Regions from separate parts of the Homo sapiens genome. Here regions 2 and 3 are each linked to region 1. The links are contacts of gene promoters, found by promoter capture Hi-C in human tissues and cell types (Jung and others, 2019). All regions are on one chromosome and are shown on one strand. Each heading gives the region's core, a stretch centred on a gene start or on the middle of the fragment in contact. The rest is flanking DNA. Distances are from core to core; before and after follow the strand shown.

What was found. Contacts are between HindIII fragments. The study calls those that stand out against the background at their distance.
Region 2: a fragment that was not itself captured here is called in contact with the fragment with the promoter of ADAMTS9 in region 1 in 1 of the 25 tissues and cell types used here (heart left ventricle).
Region 3: a fragment that was not itself captured here is called in contact with the fragment with the promoter of ADAMTS9 in region 1 in 1 of the 25 tissues and cell types used here (H1 embryonic stem cells).

Annotation. Positions count from the first base shown.
Region 1 is chr3:64,685,880-64,690,702 of GRCh38, forward strand. It overlaps ADAMTS9 (ADAM metallopeptidase with thrombospondin type 1 motif 9), which reads right to left and starts at 2,121. Exons shown (of 40, transcript NM_182920.2): 1 at 1,664-2,121; 2 at 689-1,089. The coding sequence starts at 1,778. The region is part of intron 1 of ADAMTS9-AS2 (ADAMTS9 antisense RNA 2); the gene reads left to right. The HindIII fragment of the contact is 6,670 bases long and covers 1-4,823 here.
Region 2 is chr3:65,422,250-65,427,072 of GRCh38, forward strand. The region is part of intron 12 of MAGI1 (membrane associated guanylate kinase, WW and PDZ domain containing 1); the gene reads right to left. Among named protein-coding and RNA genes, the nearest start is that of LINC02040, 250 kb to the left of the region's middle. The HindIII fragment of the contact is 4,148 bases long and covers 621-4,768 here.
Region 3 is chr3:65,343,137-65,347,959 of GRCh38, forward strand. No RefSeq gene overlaps it. Among named protein-coding and RNA genes, the nearest start is that of LINC02040, 170 kb to the left of the region's middle. The HindIII fragment of the contact is 6,006 bases long and covers 1-4,823 here.

The DNA.
Region 1 (4,823 bases), core at 871-3,370:
AGTTGGACTGCGCTGCACCCCCACTCTCGGTTCCACCCCAATTCAAAGCGTCCGGGGTAGGCTCCGCCTTCTCCCCCGCCCCCAGAGCCCTCGGCCCACCCTTCCGTTCCTGGGACGGGACCTGCTCCCTGTCAATCCAGTTCAGCCTCAGGGTTCCTGGCGCGTGAATAAAGGCCCTGAGAGAAAGCGGGGACTCTAGATTACGCACCGCCCTCCACAACACACACTGAAGGAACTCCCAGTGCCTTGGGCAGGGGATCCTCAGCCCCACATCCCCGATGCAAGGCGCACCAATAAGGAGTCTGGTCCGCCCTGCGCTCAGCGGCTCCGCTCCCGGGTGGCCAAGTTTGCTGCAGGGAACCGCAACTCCAGTAACTTTCTCCGAGTTTGGAAACTGACTTCCAGGCCGCCTCGCAGCGTTGGGCAACGCGCCGCTGAACCGAGTCCAAACTCCAGAAAGCTCTGAAACATCCAGAAGCCCCTGGGGGCGGGTGTGTGCGCTCCACGCCAGTGTACTCGCACGCACAGAGCTAGCTACCCAAACCATACGAGTTTCTAGCTGATATTTAACGCCGGAGAGGAGCGGAGCCTCGCCACAGTGAGGGTCTCTAGGCTTAGAGGACAATTAAGTCTTCTAGAAGCGGGCGAGGAGGCGGAAGGGGAGAGGAGGTGGCGCGCGCCCACTTACCATTCCTGAGCAGAGGCTGATGACGGCCGTGTGCTCGGAGTTGGTATTGACATAGCCTTTGTAGAAACAGTGCTTGAGTTCCGCTTCCTCTTCGGAATAAAACTTGGTCTGATTCACCCCGGGCGTCCCGAGGAGGGTGACAGTGAACAGTGGAGCGATAAATCCGGCATTGGCGGTGAGATTAAATAGAAACTGCTGGCCGAAGGCAGAGAGGCGGTAATGCGCCTGGGAGGAGGTAGAGGAGGAAGAGGAGGAGGCGAAGGCAGGCCAGGGGTCAGTGGCAGAGTTAATGCTCCGTCGCGTTCTTTTGAAGTGGACGTTCGTGGGAAAGGGTTCTCCGAGAGCGTTCACTCGGATGGGAGACACGATTTCGTATTCGCTCAGGGTCTCTAATAATTTCACTGCGGAGAGAAGCAGAGGTATATGAACCAATAATTCATTTTTCCTTAAGCTTTAATTTAAAACGAAGGTGGGGACTTTGTTCTGACCTTATTTTCCAGCCCATTCGAGTCAATCCCTTCACCCTTAATCAGTGGACAAATATTTGCTGAGCACCTACTATGTGCCAGTAACAGGACCTGTGCTAGGTGCTGAGGATACACTATTCCGAGCCAGACAATTAACAAGTCAAAATATATATGATTTCAGATATTGATAAATAACCTGAATAAAATAAAACATGACGCTATCTGGTGCCCCCAATTACTAAGTTACTTTAGTTTGCGGCGTGGGAGTGGGGATGGGGATATATCTGGCAACAGCAAGGTAGGGGGGGGTTGCCTAAATTCGTTTCCATAGTGTCCCTCCCTAGCAATTGGTTGGGGATGACCCAAAGAAGGGAGAGGCTGCAAAGCGGGAGATAATTCTTTCTAGGAAAAGGAGAGAAGCCTCCGCTGCGGGGTGCCCCTGCCCAGGAGCGAGGACCGGGAGGCGGCGTCGGGGCCGGCGGGGTCCCGGGGGCCGGAGCCTGGTTACCTTGCCTCGGGTGCAGCCTGTCCTTGCGCACGGCCGCCGCGGCGTCTGGGCTCCCCATCTCGGCCAGGTCCCGCACCAGGAGCGTTAGCAGTGTGGCCCAGGATACAAACTGCATGGTGCTTCCCACCCCTCCCTCCGCTGCCCCCACCCCCCTCCCTCCTGCCCTCCTTGGCTGCGGCGGCGACGCGAGGCAGCGGCCGTGGAGAGCGCGCGGAGCCCGGCGCCCGCCGCCAACTTTTGACTTTAGGAGTCGCTGAGGTCTCGCTGCGAGGGTCCCGTCTGCGCTCGGCTGAGCAACGCCGCCGCCTGCCGAGAGCTGAGCCGCTCGGGCCGCAGGAGGAGCCGGAGGAGCAGGAGGAGGAGGAGGACTGGGGCTCGGCTGCTTGGCCGCATAATGCCCAGCGAGCGGGCAGGAGAAGGCGAGGAACTTGCGCTCCGAGGCGCGCCGGGCGCCCTGTGCTGGCCGGGATAGCTGAGCGGCTTCTTGAATGGGGGGCTGGGGGGGCGGAGGCGGGGGGGCCGCGGGTCCACAGCCTCTCAAATGCCCCCGGTGCACGCCTCTAAGAGGAGGAGAGGGGAGGAGAAAGCGAGACGAACGGGGACCGCCTCCTTCCAGACCATGTCCCCTCCTCGGCCGGCCCGTGCGGGACTCGCAGCCGGAGGCCCTGCCGGCTGCAAGAGGCGGAGGCCAGAGGCGTCACCAGCGCCGGGGCAGCTGTTCCTGGTCCCCGCCACCTCGCTGAAGTGGGGTTTTCTGAGATTCCCTGCCCCGGGGAGGGAAAGCAGGGAAAGTTCTCTCCCTTTCCTGGCGCGCGTGCAGCCACTTCCCCTCTCGTCTTTTTCCTCTCCTCTCCTCTCTCTCCTCCCTTCCGAGTCTCTTTTTCCTCCTCCCCCTTGTCTCTCTGCTGCTGTGCCTCTCGGACTCTGTCCCTTCTCCCCATTTTCCCCTGTGATGTCTGTCTTCTCCCCGCCCCACCGTGTCCCTGTCTGTTTCTCACATTTCTCCTTTTCCTTTCCTTTCTCTTCCGTCCCCATCTCTTGCCACCAGTCCCCATCTTTTGGTTTCTTACAAGTGAAAGTGGCCCAGCGCCGGAGCGCCTTCCCTTCCTACACTTTTTCATTCGGGAAGAGATTTGGCACCTGAGCTCCGCTCTCGATTTAATCACCCCAAGTCAAGAGTTTTAGAAATGGGGTTCTTAATCCTGCAGGTCGGAGTGTGTTTCTAATACGTGGTCTCTTGAAAATTTCGCAAAATATTTAAGCTGTGCTTTCCACCAACCTCTGTCACCATTCATGGAGGGTCCATAGCATTCTGTAGGTCCCCTGCCCCAAAAAAGGTTAAGAACAAATTTTGGCAGCAAGAAGGGGCGGGGACTCTGGCGCCCCTCACTACCAGGGGGTTTAGAGATGGGAGGGGAAGGGGGGATGGAGTGTAAAGTTGTAGATCCCTGTGGGAGGCACCAGTCCCTGGAGGGATTTCTCAATCACTTCCGCTTGCTTTCAGCCTGAGAGATGCTTGGAAAGACTGGGAAAGACTGAAAGCAGGCGCTTCAAGCTACACCTTCGTGTGTGTGTGTGTGTGTGTGTGTGTGTGTGTGTGTGTGAATTGTTCAATCTTGGGTGGTTCAGTGGCGCCTTTTCTTTAACCAGCCCTCAGGAAGATAGAATTTCAAGATAATTTCAAGAGGAAAGACATGACAATATCGTTAAAAATATATAAATATATGACTAATAAATATATATTTGCCCAAGTATCCTAGAACGGGGGTTGAGGTTCTGTTGCGTGGTAGGTTAGCACTCAGGACTAGAAATACCAAAGATTGCCAACACCAGGAACCAAATCGCAATATGCTAGCAATGTCAACTATTCTTGAGATACTAATACATATATTTCTTCTGGTGAAGGGTAAAAATGACTTGGCAAGACGAATTTGCTAAATAATTGTTAACCCAAATTGATAATGTTACCATCGTCTTATTACTGGAATTTCATAATGGATATGTAAAATGTAAGGATGGAAAAATAACATCTGTATTGTGCACAATTAGAGATTTTTAGAGAATGGCATTTAAACCTTGAACCTCCAAATTAATTCACTAAAATACGTTTCTTCTAATACACAATCTTTCTTTTTATTATAACAACATTCCCCACAATCACAGTGTCTGGGAGTTGCTGAAAATTTAGTAAGGAACAGAAAAATATCAAGAAATCAATCTATTGGCTGATTCCTGTGGAAAATATTCCAGTACTTCCATTGTAAAATTACTCAAAAATATAGCACTTTCCAGTATTTCCCATTAAATCTTTTTTTCTCTTTCAGTTCAAATCCTTCCTGACAAAGAGAAGTTAACTAATGGTATAGAAATTACGATATGTAGGGACAGAAGCCTCCTTTGTGTACTCTCTCTCCTTTGCTTTCTTTCTAGGACTTTGCTTGAAGAATGAACTTTGTCTACAGTTTTAAAAAATTGATCCACAAGAGCTGATAGGCCAGAAAGATACAAAATATCTCTTGGTGAACTCCTGAGGTGACCAAGAACCTAGGTTTATGAATTTCTCATCCTTAGTGAGTCTACCCATCTTTTCTTCAGTGTATTAGCTGGCTTCTGCATTTACATCTGTAAAAAAGTCTTAAAGAATCTTAGGAAAATGTCTTTTAAATCGTGAGACATGAAAAAGACAGTTGAGCTAACTAAGCAAGTCAGGCAAAAATCTTTTGTCTGAATAATTACTCTTTGTCTAAATAAGTACTCTTATTCAGTACTTACCATGGGGTAACATATAGCATTTAATTTAATTCTCAAAACAGCTCTTTCAGGAAGTCAGTGTCAGTAATCTCATTTTACCAATAAGGATACCGAGATCTGAATAAGTGAAATAATTTGACCCCCCTCAATCCAGTAAGTGAGAGACACGATTCAAACTCCGTTTCAGTCGTTCAATCCAAGTTCATAACTATTATCATATGTCATGAATAACTGATTAATCAGAAGCACTGCTAGATTTTTGGAGGGTTGCTTTGTGGGAAAATGGCTAAAATCATTCAGAGAATTGCCTCAAGCTTTTATTGCATGTATAACTTTTCTTTAGCTCTCTCTTATTCTTCTCATGCAAAGTATTTAATGAAAATCATGTCAGCGATTTCATTGATATTTC
Region 2 (4,823 bases), core at 1,445-3,944, 740 kb after region 1:
AGTGGCTACTTGACAAGATGCTGGAGAACAGGCTTTGGAACCAACATGATTCACTGACATGAAGCTCCCACATCTTGGCCTATGGACACAATGAACAATGCATCTACTAGCTGTTTAGGGCAGCCTGTGAACAGAGCACACAGCTATGGCAAACAAACAGACCCGGGTTCAGAGTCAGGATCTGTCACTTTTTAGCTGTGTGACTGGGGGGTGGTCAGTCTATTATAATGCTCACAACCTCAGAAAGTTCTCTCAGGATTAGCACTTATGAAATCAAAGGGTCCTGCATTAACTCATCTTTTCATTCAATGCAGATGATTTTCTGAATACCTATAATGGACTAGGCACCATTTTAGGCAGCAGGGATAAAGTAGTGATTGCAACCAAGTCCCTTATCTGAGGGGGATCACAGGTAGGTATAGTACATAAGAAAGATCACGAGAACAGACAGTGATCGTGGGAGATGCTGCTTGATTTATGAGGAATGGTCACGGCAGACTCCTCAGATGAAAGGGGATGAAATAACCTCCGAGCCGAGGCCTGAAAGATGTGAGTGAGGAGGTCCTGTGGCTACCTGGGAGAAGAAAAATACAGACAGAAGGAGATGTAAGTGCTAGGGCCCTGACACAGGACTTTGGAGTTCACGCTTAATGATGGGAAGCTATTCTGACATGAGGAACTGCCTTGATCTGATGTACTTTAAAGCACTGTAGCTGGAGGGCAGACTGGAGGAAGCACTGAGACCTGTTGCGAGGCCACTGCAAGGCCAGGTGCCCTACAATGGGTGGTAAAGGCCAGGGATGGGGTGAGATGTAAACCAAGTTTGAGTACACTGAGAAGGGAGAACTGGCAGTATTTGCTGATGGGAACATATAGGACCCCAACATTATTAAGATATCACTCTATACACAACCTGAATTCCCCTTTCTGGGGCCCTACAGCTCAATCTGAGACATTGTGGCAGTCAAGCACTTAAGCAGTACAATGTACAATTCATTCTCTGGTCCAAGACCAGAGGGCAAAGAGGAGAAGTGCCTGATCACTTGGGTTTAACTCTCTGTGCATGGCTTACCGTGGTTCTAATTATGATGGTTTTGTATCATTTCAGAAAAACACACGTGCGTGCACACACGCGCACACACACACACACAGAGAAGAGCTAATGCTAATGATGCACTTAGCTAACGAGATTAGATACTGCTTTCTCTGTTTGGATCAATGACGATTTAATGAACTAAATATCATCAGTAAATTTTGATGAGAATTAAGAGGCATTACTTTGCCCACAGACTTCAGGCTTTACTCATTTCTTTATGCATAAGATATAGTCTTCAATAATTATGGTACTGGAGCAATTTCTTGCCTGTAAGGCAGGAGGCTTTTGGGCAGAGTGTTTAAGCACTGTCTGGAGCCAGTCTTCCTAGGTTCCAATCCTAGCTTTGCCACTAACCAGCTAATTTGGGTAAACCACAGAAACTCCCTGGGCCTCAGCTTCCTCTTCTCCAAAATGGAGCTAAGACTGTATTTACTTCAGAGGACTCTTATGAATTATGATATGTAAAATGTCTAGAAGCATGCCTGGCACACTGTAGAAGCATTTATTGTTTTCATTCCAAATCTTATGCAGGTTTTCCCAACTAAAACAGAATTTTCTCCTTTGCTTTATACTAATTTATACCAAATTAAGCTGTGGGAAAACAAAAACAACTCCTTCTTGTATTTTGTCCTAGCATAGAAGCTAACAATCACTGCCTTCATTTCACAAGGATCCAACCCATCATCACATTGCAAATTGGTGGCAGTTTCAATGTGGTTGCAACAATGAAGTCTTGAAAGGTTTTATTTACCTTCTTGGGCATGTGTGTGTGCATGAATGTATGTATGTGTATTGCATGTATCATGGTAACACAGCTTGAACATAGTAAGTACTCAGGAAATGACAGTAGTGACATTATCATTACCATCACCACCACCATTTTCTTATCTAAGTTTTGCCTTTTAACTCTCATTATCATTTTTCTAGAGTTACAAAGTGTGCTTATAAAGCTAGAGGATTAATCTTCCATTGTGACTGGTGGATCAAGTTTAATTTATTCAGCTATGACTTACTGAGACCTTATCACTTGCCAGGTTCCCCAGGAAGTGCCAGAGACACAAGAGTAAGAGTCAAACACATTACTGCTCTCTAGGAATTTTAACATTTCATGAATGTATAATCAGACCCTGAAATTATTTAGCGGCCTGACCAAAGTATTCAGTATATGGTCTGTGCAAACTAGAAAGGACAATTTCACTTCCATTACTGTTGTGATCAGCAAAAGCCAGTGGGAGATGGCACTCTAAATGAGCATCTCCAATAGCAAGTCCCCTTTCTATTCTCCTTGGAAGTAGAAAAATGTAGAATGTGGGAGCTGAAATGGACCTTAGGGAAGACTGAAAAGTCTGTCACTTACAAAACAGACTTTAAAAGTTGAACATTACTCAGAAACGAAAATATTAAAATAAGCTTTATAAACTTATTTTCATCCAACTTATAGGTCAAAGAATCAAAACTAGAAGGGACCGTAGAGGCAGAAGCCTAACATTTTTTGCAACTCTGGTTGTATATCAGAATCACCAGTGGTACCTGGGCAACACAGTGAGACCCTGTCTCTACAAAACAATTTTTTAAAAGAGATTAGCCTCACAAGATGGCACATGCCTGTAGTCCTAGCTATTCAGGAGGCTAAGGCAGGAGGTTCATTTAAGCCCAGGAGTTTGAGGTTGTGATGGGCCATGATCATGCACTCCAGCCTGGGCAAAAGAGCAGGACCCTGTATCAAGAGAAGAAGAAAAAAAAAACCTACCAGTAGAACTTCTAAAAAAAAAAAAAAAAAAAAAAAACAAAAAAAAACACACATGCCTAAACATCATACAATCTGTACGGCCCAGCTAGAACTTTTTATAAAAAATAAAATATTAATGCTTCCCCACCCAATTGCCACTATTGCTTTATCATGTGATGACTACTACGTCAGGAATTGGCACAAATGCTACCTTATTTAATCTATGTACATCATGCCCATTTTTTTCAGAAGTCTAACTAAGCTCAGAGAAGGCAAGTGACTTGCCTAAAGTCACAATGCAAGTAGAGCAGAAGCCAGGATTTAAACTTGCATCCTCTGTCTCCACAGTCCTGTGGTCTTTCCTCTATACAACAATAAGGTCATCCCTTGCATAAAATTTGAGCCAGAATGGAGTGCCTGAAAGATTCTCTAGCTCAAAACATTCATCTTTTAGATTAAAAAAATAAGTGTCAGGGTAGAAGTAGTACCCTTCTGAAGCATATGCAGAAGCTTACGGGCAGAGTTTGTACTCAAGGTCAGCTCCTGGTATCCCAAGTTCAGTTTTCTTTTTAATACATGCCTTCTCTCAAAAGTAAAACATAGGATCTTCACTTGCATACAGTGCTGCCAAATCTTTTCTTGAAACGGAGTGTTGTGACTCAACATGAAATTACATTTTAAAGAGTGTCACACCTACTGATAGGTGTGAATTTGCCGAATATCCAAAATATTTGACACAGAGGGGCACAGGTAGTTACGCTATCTACATGAGCCTTTTTTAAAAAAAGTAAAAAATCCTTATGGGACAAGTTCGATAGCTTTTACAAATTAAAAATAAAAATCCACAAACTAGTTTGATTTTCCAAACACTTCAAAGAAGTCTCTAGATGCACACTGATGTCAGGTGACAGGATTTCTGAATGCAGATGCTATGTTCAAAATAGAAGGGTAAAAAGCACTTTCCTGACTGGACAGCAGAGGGAGAAGGAGTAAGGACACACAATTGGAAGAGGGGAGCCAGACACAGAGAAGAACTGCCCTTTAAAAACCTGAGTGATCGACTGGCAAGCAGGGAGATGTTGATGAAGAGGAGATTTGTAAGCAAATCAGGACTGGTCCCGGCTACTTGGGAGTATGGATGAACACTGCACAGCAGCTCTAAGCCTGACTCAGGAAACTGTCTGACCCTGGACATTTACAAATGATATTTCAACCTTCAGCTCGATTTCCAGATGAGGGAAGGGGGATGGACTAAAACTACTAAAAATGAAATGTATTAGATCTTGACAAGAACAAATGTCAAAAACGAGCTCTAGAGATGAGGAATTAAAATGGGTGCTACAAACATAGCAGCCAGTTCTGTCCCAAAGTAAAAATGGCCCGTTCTTTAAAGCATAGAAAGCCACAACCTCACGACAGGAATTCCTGAGACTCATGGAACAGTGTAGATGAGTTTATCAGTCATCTTACTAGCAGTTACAAAATAAACTAGATTCATTAGAAAGAATCGGTAAAGTGGGCATTTACTTTCTCATTGAACCTAGCTGTTGTCTTGAAGCACCTTCATCAAGCCTTCTCATTACATCCCCACTATACAGAAGAGATGATTAAATGTCAGCCCTGATTCAAGCAACTAATGTATGGCAGAAACAGATATATTTATATGCCTTCCAGAAAGATTAATAGTATCTAGTGCTAGCCTGCCAACTGCAGATGTACAAACTTTCTATCCTATACATAAATCATACACAAGACATATGGTGTATTTTAAAGACTGCTGATGTCACAGTGATTTTAAATTACTCATGTTCTGAAATAAACCATGTAGATGTTGATGAATATGGCAATATATTCCGGATTTTTCATATAAATGTTATAAAATGTAACACCATTAATGAGAAGATGGCATTGGGAATTAAGAAGAGAGAATGCAAACATATTTAAAATCAAGGAGTATAGTCAGGTGTGGTGGCTCATGCCTGTAATCCTAGCACTTCG
Region 3 (4,823 bases), core at 970-3,469, 660 kb after region 1:
ATTTTTCCACTGCTGACCATGACTGCTTATTCCAATATCCTTCCTCCCGCCGAACTGCTCAGGTATGTGAGACGGCAGGCAGGATCAAAGCCACTACTCGGGTTAAAAATTGCCTAATTTGCCGAATTATAATAGAACTCAGAGTGGACTTCCTGTCTTCAAAGCACCTTACAAAAGTTAACTAATTAATCGTCATAACACCTTGTGAGGTGTGCATTATTATTACATTCAAGGTGAAGCTTTAGTTAGTGGCTGAAATTTAAATAAGGCCACTTGATAGAAGTAACCCAACTGAAAATGTAACCAAACATAGAATGGCTTTGGATTTCACAAACTGCTCTCCAAGAATCCTGTATGTTATGACTAAGCAATTGAAGACTGCCTCAGCAGCCATTGGAAACATAGAAAAGGAAATCGTTTACTGAGATACCCGCTGTTTCAAAGAAGCATTCAAATCAGCAATTTCGGAGGGATGCAGACTTACCTAAAATTACATGTTCTGCAAAATTAAGATGTCAACGTTCTTTGAAATTATTCTCCCAATTGCAAGGCCCCAGCAAATCTTTATCATTTGGCTTAGAGCAGAGTTTCTCAACCTGGGCACTGTTGACACCTGGGGCTTCATATGGTTTGGCTCTGTGAGCCCAGGCAGATCTCACCTTGAATTGTAATAATACCCATGTGTCAAGTGTGGGACCTCGTGGAGATAACTGAATCATGGGGATGGTTTTTCCCATGCTTTTCTAGTGAGATCTGATGATTTCATAAGGGGCTTCCTCCTCTGCTCGGCTCTCATTCTTTCTCTCCTGCCACCCCGTGAGGAGGTGCCTTCCAACGTGATCATAAGTTTCCTGAGGCCTCCCCAGCCATGTGGAACTGTGAGTCAACTAAACCACTTTTCTTTATAAATTACCCAGTCTCAGGTATTTCTTCATAGCAGCATGAGAACAGACTGATACAGAGCTGGATCATTCCTCATTATGGGAGGCTTTCCTGTGCATTGTAGGGTGTTTAACAACATCCCTGGCCTCTACCTACTGTATGCCAGTAGCCCACCAACCTCTTCCCCAAGTTGTGACAATGAAAATGTCCGCAGATATTGCTAACTGTACCCTGGAGGCAAAATTGCCCCTGAGAACTACTACCTTAGACAAGAGGTCAGAGTATTTCTCTCCAGTATTGCACATATCCAGAGAGCCCCTGTAGATTTAAAAAAAAAATGTTTTTGTCTTCCCTGAGCCATTACTCTGATCCAAATGAACAAAGAATTTCAGATTTTCCCATGACATGAGGGGACGTGGGTGAGCCAGCACAGAGGGTCCTTAAAGATGCACAAAATGGTAAATGCTGAATTTTGGTAACTGGGTGCTACTCACCCAGACAACTCAGTCTGCATAGCGACTGGAAAGAGAGCTGGAGGTGTCTGCCTGGGGCCCAGAACTTTTTAAATCCTCCCAGGCTTCCCACTGGCAATGCTAATTTTCAAGGAAGGCTTGCATCCCACACAGGACATTTCTGGCCTTGCCTGCCTCCTCCAACTTTGCATCCTCAAATGCCAAATTCTCCCACTTTGTAGCTTAGCAGGCAGAGAAGCAGCTGAAAACCCTGCGGGCTATTGAGAATGAGTAATTGGATATCAGCCTTAAAAATAATCAATCCCTTCCCCCCGCATCCCTTCCCATCTCCATTTCCTCTCTTGCCTCCCCCTACCCTCAGAGGTAAAGGAAATCTTAATCACTTTTAGACCAAGGAGGCAAAATCATACTATATTAAGCTTTTTAAGAAAAAATGTAAAGGAATTTATCCCATGGCAGACAAAGTACAAAGTATTAAAGTATAGGAGATACATACATCTGCTATGTACTAAATTACCCCCAAAATTCATATGTTGCAACTCTAATCCCCAATGTGACTGTATTTGGAGATAGGGCCTTTAAAGGAGGCAGTTAAGGTTAAGTGAGGTCATACGGGTGGGGCCACAATGTGATAAGACTGGTGTCTTTATAAGAAGAGGAAGAGACCCCAGGGGTACGCACAAAGGGAAAAGGCCACCTAAGGACATAGTGAGAAGGTGCCCACCTGCAATTCAGCAAGTGGGCCCTCACCAGAAACCAACCCTGCCAACACCTTGATCTTGGACCTGCAGCCTCCAGAACTCTGAGAAAATCCATTTCTGTTGTTGAAGCCACACAGTTTGTGGTATTCTGGTATGGAAGCCCTAGCTGACTAATATGCTATAGAACACAGGTGACCCTCCATATCTGCAGATTCGACCAATCGTGGATCAAAAATATTTGAGAAAAAAAATTGTCTACTGAACATGTGCAGACCTTTTTCTTGCCATTATTCCCTAAATAATACAGTATAACTATTTACATAGCACTTATATTGTATTAGGTATTATAAGTAATTTAGAGATGATTTAAGGTATATGGGAGGATGTAGGTTATATGCAAATACTACACCATTTTGTATCAGGGACTTGAGCATCTTTAGATTTTAGTATCTGCAGAGGGTCCTGGAACCAGTCCCCCATGGAGACCAAGGGATGACTGTACAATTTAGCAGTTAAAAAAAAAAGGCATAGATTCAAAAGATGAATTAAGTGGGAGAAAATAACACCACTGAACAATAGGTACATTATTATGCACTTGTAATTTTAGAACCCCACAGACAAAAAACATACACACACACACACACACACATATGCTTTTGTGCATTAGCAGATATCCTGACATGTCTGGAAGGAGCGTTCCAATATGGCAACAGTGGTTAGCTCTGGGAAGAGACTGGAATTGAGGAAGGGAGTGGTTAAGAGTTTTTATCTTACACTATTTGGACTTTTTTAAAAAACCAAACTAACGTAGTATGCATTACTTGCATCGTAAAACAAAATATTAAGGGTTTTTCTGTTTTGGGTTTTTTTGTTTTTTTGGTCTCAACTGCTCTTCTTAGTCTTCTCAAAGCCTGAATCATGTTCTTGGTGACACCCACATCAGGCCCCTCCTGAAAGTAGCATAAAATCATAGAGAATATGGCATTCTTTCTGGTTTAAATTCTATAAATGGACCAGACCATTTCCCACTGTTTCAGTGTAACCATCAATGACATAGTGGGGGAGGGGCACGAAGAAAGAACAGTTTCCTCAAAATCCAAAATAAAGCTCATTAATAGGAACAAGGATTGAGACATTTTAATTATCCAGGCATGCGCCTGTGGAATTTCTCATCCATTTTAATGGAATCCAGGAAGGGAGAGGGAATACATTTTTAATAAAAATAAAGAGTGAAACAAAAACCAATCCAGACAAAATACACCAAAGTAACAAAAATAACCCCCATGAAATAGATTTCAAAAATAAAACTGAAATAAGTTGAGGGGAGAAAACATCATCAGCCAGACTCCTGGGGTGATTTCACAGGGCCCGTGACAGTGCACAACAATTTTGCACATCTAGCTACAGGAAATGGTTCCCGTGTTACAAGTTTCCAATAAGACCAGTTAAAAGAAAGCAACTGGAAACAAAGGTACTCCCAGCCCAAATGTGTTCTCTGGAACCCAATTGTTGGCCCTGGTAGGAAGAATAAATAAAATCTTTGCTTCTTTCTAAAAAGGAGAGGAGCACATCATTTTCCTTTCACATAGTTTGTGGTAATTCTAAGAGGTTTTAGGATGATCCACATGTTGAATGTGGGTTGTTCTCACTGCTTTTTATTTTAGCAATGGGGAGGGTCATTTGGTCCCCTCTAAATAGCTTTTTTTTTGTCTCTCCTTTCTTCCTCTATGGGAATAGGCAGTGAGTTTTTCTCCCTAAGGCTCACAGACATATTTCACTTCTTGCTTCTATTTCTCCCCATGGCTATGGTAGATCTTTAGTCTCATGGGCCTTCCCTCCATGCCTGGAATAAAACACACACCCTTGGCCATGAGGCCTTTGCTCAGGTCTTGCTTCCTCCTTGGAAAGAGCTCTTCCTTCTTGCCTCCCTTTTTTCTTCTATCAAGATTAAGTCCTCCAATTACAGACACTCAAGGGCACCACATACACTCCATAGCTGTTACCACAATTTAACTCAATTATCCAATGTCTGTCTTTCCTGGCAGATTCTGAACTTCAGGAAGGCTGAAGTTTTATTGCTTTTGTTTGACGCTGAGTGCCCAGCATCAAGCCTGGAAAATAATACTCAGTACATATTTGTTAACAAACTGCTTTGGCCTGATTTATATTTTTAGAAGACAATGGAGTGAGTTAAGGTCAGCTAAGGTATAATTTCCCAGGGATAAGTGGAAAATCTAAATCATAAAATTCCTCCTAGAGGGGGTGGCTATAGGGAGGACTGTCAAATAGATGGGTTGGAGAGATAGATGACATTTTCACTAGTCTTGACACATTCTGCAGCCAATAAAAGAGATACTGTCTAGTTCTAGATTTCGTGACTATCTCAAATGTACTCTTGATTTCTCCTTTGGTCCCAAATTAGGGCTGGTCATATCAATGGTACCTTCTGGGTCACTGGACTGGACCAGTGTTAGAGTTGCTTACATAAATACTAGAGCTTCTACGTAAATGACACTTTTTGTCAGTAGCATTTTCCCAAGAGTATTTTTCCCCTAAATTTTAAGGCTTGTATGTTATTTTGGTCATAGGAATGTCACACTCCACTCATTCACTCATAACACAATTATTTTTCAGCCCCAAAGTTGCCTGCTAAAATTATTTGTGGGTAGAGATGGGGACAGAGACATCATAAATACTTTGGAAACCAAGAACTTGCTAGAAATAATTTTCCCTCTTCATGACTGCTGATTGTCAACTATTCAATATT